Linked DNA regions of Homo sapiens: region 1 is linked to region 2. Evidence: promoter capture Hi-C in human tissues and cell types (Jung and others, 2019). All regions are on one chromosome and are shown on one strand. The core of a region is centred on a gene start or on the middle of the fragment in contact, and the rest is flanking DNA. Distances in the headings are between cores, read along the strand shown. Region 1 has its middle 38 kb from the start of BNIP1. Region 2 holds the start of NKX2-5 (NK2 homeobox 5).

Region 1 (4,978 bases), core at 1,048-3,547, 53 kb before region 2:
AAAAATGAGTTTACTTTTGGCCTTCCCCTTCCTTTTTGCTTCCTGCTGACCTTGGCTGGCTTATTACAGACTCCTTCTGAGTGATCTCCCTACCCCAGGCTTAAGGGATGGGTTTACTTAAGAGGAAGAAACCTAGCACATTCCAAGAATGTGAGGGAAGGGAAGAGGAAGGATGAGAACAGGTTGGGCGAGGTCATGGAGGAGGCAAGGTGTCTCGACTCAATGGAGGATTCAACATGGAAACGAGGTTCAAGTTCAGCACCAAGGGCATCTGTCGGGGAGATCTGCTGTCTTGGCTTCCCTTTTATGAGGAGACAAGGTCTTCTGCTGAGAGCAGAGGGTCTAAGGTGGAGTTCAGTGCTGAGAAGATGCAGAAAACGGGGACTGAGGGGCCAATGGGTAGGATGACTGGTTGGTGTTAGAGTGCCACTGGGGTGCTTGGGAACTTTGGTTCAGGAAAGCACTGTGCAGTCCTTTTAAAAGATGTCTGCAAGTTTATTAGCAGTCCACTCAAAAGGTGGAGTCTAAGTTTTCTCACCTTGAATATGGTTGACTTGTTTCTAATAATAGGCTGTGGTGGAGGTGATGCTGTGTGATATCTGGGACCAGGAGAGAAGGCAATATAGAATCCCCCTGGTTCTCTTTCTTGGGACACTCACCCCTGGAACCCAGCCACCGACGCTGTGAGGAAGGAAGCCTGGGCCACATGGGGAGACCACTTACTGGTGTTGTAGCTTGGCTGAGCTCCCAGTCAGCAGCCAGCATCAAATGCCAGACACATGAGCAAGCTCCTCATTGACTCCAGCACCAGCTACCATCTGACTACAACCACAGGAAAGACCTCAAGGAAGAGGCACCCTGCTGAGCCCAGCCAATCCCCAGAAGTGGGAGAGAGAATTGTGATGAATGGATGTTGTTCCTTGATGCCACTAAGTTTGGGGTGATTTGTTAGGCAGCACTAGATAGCTGGAGCATGCTGCTATACCACTCTCAGAAAGTCAGTTTCTTTGGTTGGTTTTGTCCTTACTGAATGAACATCAGGTTTTTTTTTCTGATAATAAAAGTGATACTTGCTCATTTTAGAAAATTTGGAAAACTGAAAAAATTCTGAAGAAGGAAAAAAATGGCCTGAAAACCACTATACCCAGAGATAATCGCTGGCACACAACAGGTGCTCAATATTTACAGAATAGGTGAAGGAACCTGATGGGTGGAGTGTATTTGGGTTGACCCCCTCTCCTCCCCACAGCTGGGCATTTAGGTTGTTTGTAGGTTTTAGAGTGGTAAATTCTTTCCTTTTTCTTTTGTAGCCACATTAGAAGATAAAAATGGTCAATTCTTTTTTTTTAGGTAATTTTTTATTTTTATGGATTTAGGGGTACAAGGGCAGTTGTGTTACATGGATATATTGTGTAATGGTGAAATCTGGGCTTTTAGTGCTCTCCTTACCTGAGTAGTGTACATTGTTAAGAAGTGGTCCATTCTTTACTTCTGGAGTTCACTGTGTCAAGCAAGAGAGAAGAAGGGAAATAGAGTGAATTAGAGTCAGGCAAGCCACCCTGAGGTTCGGAACCTCAAACATTAAGTCTTTCCCAGGCAGAGAAGCATTTTCCAGAGCCTCCAGCTTCTTCCTACCTAGAGCACTGATTCACCCCAGAGGACACGCTGGGTCAGGAAAGAGATTGCAAACATTTTCCTTCTGGAGAATAGATTTACACAGGAAGGAAAGCTCCTGTGATAAAGTTTACATCCATCTTTCAGCCTTGCCGCTCACGTTACACAGCATCATGTTGACTTCAAACACTCCTAGACGGCAAGTGCGGGCACTGCCGTCTGCTACTCTCTGGAACAAATGTGGTTGTATGATCCCGGGACCTATAAGGAATGTGGCAGATAAATGCAACAACCGAACCCAAATTATTTACCATTTTCTAAACCAAAAACCTGGAAAGGGGACAGCAGAGATAATGTTGAGCAGATCATGTTAATGATCCAGAATTTTATCAACCCTGCAACTACAAACACTTCCAATTCCATCTGGCTTGAAAGACGCCACTCACAAAGTTAATATTTTTTCTTGTGCATATTTTAGTACATTTGGAATTGCTTTCTTCCCCCATTTTGTAGCAGTGACATAACTGGTAAAATAGGTGTGAGGCAGGGTTTGAGGTGGATCCCCCTGATTAATCAGAAGTACTTCCCTCCTTTCTTTAGGGAAGTGGGCCTAGATAAGCAGAGATGAGATTATTTGGTTCTGGTAGGGATGGCCTGGGAGAAGGACCCTTACTTTTCCCCACAGGGTACAGAAGCCAGGGGTTGAGGGACCAATGCCCTGCAGTGGGCATCTACTGTATCTGTCTGCCCAGCACCCATTCCCTTTCATCTGGGATCAACATCTAGTTTTCTTTTGAGAAACCATCACTCCCCAACTCAGTCCACATGGGGACAGAGCTGACACAACCCCTGATGCCAGGGTTGAAGAGGTGACCTGGATGGTCAGGGTCAGAGTGATTGGCTCACATAACCAAACTAGGCAACTGAGCATCAGTCCTGGGTTGTCTCATGAATTCCGAGGAAAACAGCATTCTCTTTCTCTAGGGTCACCAAGCTGCCAGGAAGGGATCCTGGAGCTACGGTGATACCATCTTTAAGGGAGCCTGTCTAAGAGGAGAGCCGAGCTGAGAGGCAGAGAGATAGCATCCTATTCACATAATTTGAGCCTCTGGATCCAGCCATGCCTGAAACCCATCAAATCTCTGGTCTTCCTATTTAGGTCAGCCAAAAACTAATTTCTTTTACTTGGGTTTCTGTCACTTACAACCCAATGGGTCCTTAGTACTATAACCCCTGTGTGCCTTATTGGAAGAGGGAGAGATTAAGAGAGATGAAACTGGCAGGCCAGCCATCCCCCCAGTTAGGCTTCCAGAGAGGAGACCTCCACATCAGTATGGTCAAAAGTATAAACATGTCTGTCCGGAGCTCTTCCTGCAGTGGGCCCAGGCATTGGCCTTTGTGGCTTACTTTTACCACCATCATTTTGATAGACTGTGAACTGGTATAAATATTGCTCAAAATCCAGAGCTGGAATAAAAATTGCCCCCAAATCTGGAATTTGGCCCTTCTTTTTAATTTTTATGTATTTATTTTTGAGACAGGATCTTGCTCTGTCACCCACAGTGGTGCCATCATGGCTCACTGCAGCCTCAACCTTCTAGGTTCAAGCGATCCTCCCACCTCAGTCTACTGAGTAGCTGGAACTACAGGTGCATGCCACCACCATACCTGGCTAATTTTTAAATTTTTTGTAGAGACAGAGTCCCACTATGTTGCCTAGGCTGGTCTCCAACTCCTGGGCTCAAAGGATCCTCCAGCCTCGGCCTCCCAAAGTGTTGAGATTATAAGTGTGAGCCACTGTGCCTGGCTGGATTCGGCCCTCCTTGACATCAAGCCTGTTCCTCAGCTTAACTGCAGGCACTGACCCAGACCAGGTCTGCCTGAGCATAGTAGATAAGTGAAGGATGCCTACGTGAGTCAGGCCAGTGATCAAGAATAAAGAAACTGAATGTTGGCCGGGCGTGGTGGGTCACGCCTGTAATCCCAGCACTTTGAGAGACCAAGGCGGCTGGATCACCTGAGGTCAGGAGTTTGAGACCATCCCAACCAATATGGTGAAACCCCATCTCTACTAAAATTACAAAAATTAGCCAGGCGTGGTTGCGGCGCCTGCAATCCCAGCTACTTGGGAGGCTAAGGCAGGAGAATTGCTTGAGCCCGGGAGGTGGAGGTTGCAGTGAGCCGACATCCTGCCACTGCACTCCAGCCTGGGTGACAGAGTGAGACTCTCTGTCTCAAAAAAAAAAAAAAAGAAAAAAAAAAAGAAAAAAAAAAGAAATTGGATGTTAAAACCTTTACCAACCCCAGGTGAGTTCTGCCACCTGCATTCCCCATTTTGGTTGCAACCAAGTGACCACGTGGAAGCTTCTCCTACTCTTGCTACTGGCCCCTAGGGCTCCCCAAAAGAAACTCAGCCTCTTCATGTCTCCTTCATCTTTCTCTCTTCTGGGGGTCATGTCCAAGGCTCCCATTTGTACATTTGGCCTCTGCCTACCTTGGGCCTCCCTGTGCCTTGCTTGGGTCATTCTGGCAGCTTCTGACTGGGCCCAATGCAGCCGGACTTTCCTCATTCAAGTTGGTGCCCTGCGTCAGCCCCTCTCTTTCAGAGGCACATGCCATGGCCTCCTTGAGAATTCTCCAGTGGCCTCCCTGCCCGAGGCGAGGGCACAACACAGATGTCCTCAGGCCAAGCAGAGACATGGGCCCAGTGACATCACATTTTCAGATTTTTCTAGAAAAGCCAGATACTTGAATTTTGGGGGGTAATTCACTTGATTTTTATGTGTTAGCCATTAATTAACAAAAAACAGTCCAGGCACAGTGGCTTATGCTTGTAATCCCAGCACTTTGGGAGGCTGAGGCGGGTGGATCACCTGAGGTCAGGAGTTCTAGACCAGCCTGACCAACATGGTGAAACCCCATCTCTACTACAAATACAAAAAAAATAAGCCGGGTGTGGTGCGGGCGCCTGTAATCCCAGCTACTCGGGAGGCTGAGGCAGGAGAATCAGCTGAACCCGGGAGGCAGAGGTTGCAGTGAGCTGAGATCGTGCCACTGCACTCCAGCCTGGGTGACAGAGCGAGACTCTGTCTCAAAAAAAAAACACCAAAAACCAAAAAAAACCAACCAAACAAACAAAAACAAGCAAACAAAAAAACAAACAAAACAGAAAACAAACAAGCCAAAAAAAAAAATCCCCAAAACAAACACACAAAACCTGCTGTCTTTGTGCAGGATGATCACTCGGGAGACTAATTTGGCAATATCTAGTAAGGCTGAATTTGTGTCTGCTCCATACCTTGGTCTTTCCACACCGAGGTAGGTACCTGAGAGCAGGCGTATTCAAAATTTGGTCTCAGTAATC
Region 2 (4,788 bases), core at 229-2,728:
TTTGCGCAGTGTCCAAGAAGCTGCGGGTGGGCAGGCGGCCTCGGAACCTGCCTTGCTGGCTTCCTCGAATTGGTAGCGATCAGTTCTAGCCGCCGTGCCCGCCCGAATTTGTTCCCAGGCCTCTGCTCCTCAACAAACCTATGAATTCTCTCCCGGCTGGCAGCGGCCCTTCGCCCAGCGCTTCGCCCAGCGCCTGCGGCCTCCCGGGAATCGCCCGGGCTCCTGCCTTGGGCTGGGGGGTCTCCCAGAAGGCCCCTTTCTGCAGCGGGGCCGGCCTCCCTCCCCGATCCTGGGATGGCCTGCGGGATGATCCCGCACTCATCTCGTCCACTCCCTTGTGCCCGCGGTAGCGCAGCATTTCCTAACTTTTCCACGAGGGAACCTCTCCGCCCTGGCCGCGCCGGCAAGTTGTGCTGAAAAAATAAAGTGAAGTCAGATTCCTGAGGGTCCGCAGTATCCCATTTTAAAATCAAGGCCCTCGATCCCAGACTCCACTTTCCTGGCGCAAAGAAAGAAAGGCACCAGAAACCCGGGTCGTGGGTGGGCTGCAGAAAGAAGGTCCAGGACCCTCCTCCGATTGTACGCAAAAGCTGTCTGGTGAGCAACATTTCAATTTCTGTTTAGCGGTTCTCATCAGATCTTTAAAAAGATTCGTAAATCCAAAGGAGATTTAAAAACAGAGATTATCTGCTTGTCTCTCTGTTCTGTCTACCATAAACCGATTTCTCAACTTCCTACCAGACCCAGGAGCAGAGCCGAAGCCGCCCGGGGCTTTGTTAGGCCGGGGGGAAACGTTTTTTGGTCTCTTGCTTCTGATCCTTTCAATCCGGCATTTCCTCTGAACCTCCGATTGGACGCGGGGCGCGGGAGCCTGGCGACAACACCAGGCATCTTACATTCTGAACCCCCCGCCGCAGCCCAGCCCTCGGCCCAAGGGCGCGTGTCTCCTCCTCCTGGCCCTGAGTTTCTTGGGGACGAAAGCGACCCAGGAGGGGAGAAGGGGGCCTGTGTTTCCTCCTCACCTTTCTTTTCGGCTCTAGGGTCCTTGGCTGGGTCGGGGTCGCTGTAGGCACGTGGATAGAAGGCGGGGGCGGCGGGAAAGGCAGACGCACACTTGGCCGGTGAAGGCGCGCGGCCCAGCTCTGCGCGCAGCTCTGGGAGGCCCGGCGCAGCCGCCTCGGGCCCAGCGTAGGCCTCTGGCTTGAAGGCGGCCAGCATGCAGGAGGAGGGCGCCAGGGTCGCCTCCAGGCGGGCAGAGAGCTCTCCGGCGGCAGCCAGGCTGCGCTGCTGCTGTTCCAGGTTTAGGATGTCTTTGACTGAGAAGGGCGTGGGCGTGAGAGCAGGGCTGGGGAACATGGTGGCAGCGCCAGTCTCACAGCGCCAGGTGGGCGGCAGAAAGCGGCGCTGCCCACGGCCCCTGGCAGCTTCCCTGCATGGTGCCGCCGCCCGCCCGCGCACCCGTCGGCCAGCTCTGGATGTGTCCGGGCAGCAGGTAGCGCTGAGCACAAGGGGCAGGAGAGGCGGGACCAGGCCAGAGGAGGGGGACTCAGCCTGCCATTGGGCCAGGGGCCTCGATGACAGGAGCGATGAGCAGTTTCGTGTCACCTAATATAGTCATACGGCAAAAAAAAAAAAAAAAAAAAAAAAAAAAAAAAAAAAAAAAAGCCCTGCCCAGCTTTTTTAAAGGGGCCACGACGCATTTGGAAGGGTCTCCTTTTGCTCCTGCAGCCTGCGTTTGCTCCCTAATGTGAGCCTGAAAAGCCTACCAGAGGCATGCAGAGTCAGGCCTCTGGGCAGGGCTGGATGGGTGTGGGTTTGAAGAAATATTCCTCAGCACCCAAACCAGCATGGGAGAGAGAAGGATGGGGTGGGAAGCGGTGGGGAGGAGAGTGATTTGAGGAAGGCTTTATTACTGAAGGTGGTGGGATGAGGGAGAGTCTGAATAGGAAGAGAAGCCTGGAGGACAGGGCTGGCTTTGGGGATAGCAGCAGGGCGAGATTCTGGACAATTCGGGGGTTTGGTTTGGCTTGGCCTACAGGGTCAGTCATGCCGCAGGCTCTGGGTGCTTCTGGGCGAGTCAACGAAAGTAAGGGCAAGGTGAGTGATGGCCAGGTGGGGTAGGAGTTGCTGCCTCCTACAGTAGTGTTATGCACAGCACAACTCCAGGGGGCATCAGTCACTGCCAGTACCCTCCCAGGGAAATGCCTCTCCCCTTAATAATGAAATAAATCAGGAATCCCAGCTGGTAAGCTCAGCTTCCCAGGAGACACCTGTCTTGTGGAGTGCCCCAGCTACCAGCCACCTTGTTTCCCCTGTTTGGAGGCCATCGATCCCACCTCCCTCCTTCCCGTGCCCTCCCTGCCTGGCAGCAAGGCCCTCAGGCTTCTGCCAACCTCGAGGTTTCAGGGTCCTAGCCCAGGTTTAGCTCTCAGGGAGGCGGGGCTCCTCTGAGCCCAGCTAGGCCAGGATTTCTCTGAGGCCTCTGGGCCGGACTTCCAGTGGGGCACCCCTGCGGCTCGGTCAGGCGCGTGGGGGAAGGGCAGGGCAAGTGGGGTGATCATGATCATTTTTAGCCCAGGGTCAGTAGAGTAGGGCACAGAAGTCAGACAAATCTGCCAGAGTTTCAGGAGCGCCAGCTACATGGCCAGATCCTGCCCGGGTGGCCTCATTTCTCTGGGTCCCCGCACTCCTTGGGAGGTCTGATGAAAGCTTGGGGTCTTCTCCATTCCCCAGAACACTGCAGAGAGGAGTTTTATTTTGCTTACAATTCAGGAGTCCGGGCAGGCAGAGCGGGCCCAGGTTAAGGACGCCTTCTAGAGCTGGGGATGACAGGATTTGTCAGTGGAAAAGCGTTGGCTTCTCACGGCCCTAGCTGGTACAGGGAACCGCGGGCGGGAAGCTGGGCGGGACGCGTGGACTTGCTGAGAATGGGGATGTGGAGGGCTTGGCTCTTTGCGGAGTGCGGGTTGGCAAGAGGCGCTTGGAGTAGAATAAAGGCGGCGCAGGGCCAAAAACTACCTAAAGACACAGCTCCCGCAGGCGCGCCCAAGGTGCGGAGGAAACGCTCCATGTATGGGGACAAAATAGTGTCTGTCCAGAACGTACATCTTGGGTGCTCAAACCCGACAGTGTGCCGTCTGAGACGCCGACGCAAGTGAAGTCAAGCATTGGCCTGATGTTGGGACTTTTCCTGTCCCTCATCAAAGCCACACTCCCAGGACCTGGGGCCTCCATGCTGGGGAGAGAGGTGAGCCCCGCAGGGCAGCCCAGGAGGCGCGCAACGCCCTGACCCCGGCTTCTAGGCGCCAGCCGTCAGTAACAGGCCTGGGCTGCCACGCCGAAATCACGCCTCGAGTTTCTGAGCCAGGGACTACTGGGGGTCTGGAATTGTTAGTCTAGTCTGTGGAGGATGCCTTTTCTTAAATGTGGGGCGTTCAAGGCCCAGGAAACCTCGTCCCCCCACCTCTTCACCTCCCAACCCAAATTCTCCTTGGACGGAGCTGCATGTCAGCGGCCTTGCGGCCCTTCCTCGCCTGGACTTTTGGCCACGTTACCGTTATGGCTGTAAATTAACCTAGCTTGGGGGCCCGCCTTGCCTTTGAAGATTGTTTTCGAGCGCGGGCGGGGGGGGGTGTCGTTGGAGAGGATGCCTATCGCCGAGGCGGTGACGTCTGGCAAACGAGCCACATCCGATTCAATTAAATGTCTCGCTGAAAAGAGCTCGGAACGAGGGTCCTGGGAGCGCTGTTAAGTGAATCTGCTGGCCAGGCGGCTCGCGATGACAGTTTGAAAGATTAGTGTGAGCGGACGCCTGAAATATTACCGTTTAATGGGGGACATCGAGGCTACATCCGGGATCCCTGTTTTTAGTAAGGTTTTTTTTTTTTTTTTTTTGAGAGCTCTGGAGAAAGAAAAAAATTAGCATTGCCCTTGCAAATCAAGGTGGCAAGGATTTATTTCCTATTTTCGGGTAAGGGGGCTTCCTAGAACTGTCAGTCCTGTGGGTCAGGTGTTACAAAAAGGGAAGGAAAAAAAACTCTCCCTATTTGAACAAGATCAGTGACTGTTACACTCTCTATGCTCTTTGTGAATCGGGTAATGATTTCTCTTGGCTTCCAAAAAGGTCTTGGTGTTGCAGGAGAGAGGAGATGGGGCAAAAACGGACAAATACGTGCAAAATAGAAATTGGGGCGACCCATGCTGGTCTCCTTAGAGGAAAGTCCGAGAGCCATTTGCAGCTTTTCTTTCCAGTCCTCACTGTTTCCGAGTGAGTTAAAAAAAAATCCCTCTAAATAGATCTAAATAGAAATTGCAATAGTTGGGGGTTGGGTGGGAGGAAACTTGATTCTCTGGCCCCCAACAGGGACACATCTTTTTTTCCCAAGGGCCGCTGACCCAACCTGGCCGCCTCTCTGCGCCGCACTTTGACCAAACTAGCAGGACAAACAAACAGCCTTCAGCCTAGAGAAAGGCAGAGAGAGACAAAAGGAGAGAGAAGAGATCGAAAATCTATCTGTGTATTTCCTTGACTTTTAAAGAGTTGGTGCTTTAAGATAATCCAAATTCCAGGGTGGCTCGAGCGCATTCTCCGTGAATAAATTATTATTAATTGAAAAGCGATCGGCGCAGCCGGAGCCGGCCCCCCTTTCGTGCAATCAGCAGGGCTGGTCGCAAAAGGTATATATGATTAATTGAAAGATAAGCTGGAACTATCACCGGGAATGTCATTAATGCGCTGGGGAGACGTCCATTGGAGACAGGCGGCGTTATCCGCGGCTTTATCTTCAA

What was found. Contacts are between HindIII fragments. The study calls those that stand out against the background at their distance.
Region 1: a fragment that was not itself captured here is called in contact with the fragment with the promoter of NKX2-5 in region 2 in 2 of the 25 tissues and cell types used here (IMR-90 fibroblasts and mesendoderm cells).

The regions. Positions count from the first base shown.
Region 1 is chr5:173,179,716-173,184,693 of GRCh38, forward strand. No RefSeq gene overlaps it. Among named protein-coding and RNA genes, the nearest start is that of BNIP1, 38 kb to the left of the region's middle. The HindIII fragment of the contact is 6,526 bases long and covers 1-4,978 here.
Region 2 is chr5:173,233,728-173,238,515 of GRCh38, forward strand. NKX2-5 (NK2 homeobox 5) reads right to left here and starts at 1,479. Exons shown (of 2, transcript NM_004387.4): 1 at 1,023-1,479. The coding sequence starts at 1,356. RefSeq lists an enhancer at 1-158. The HindIII fragment of the contact is 11,596 bases long and covers 1-4,485 here.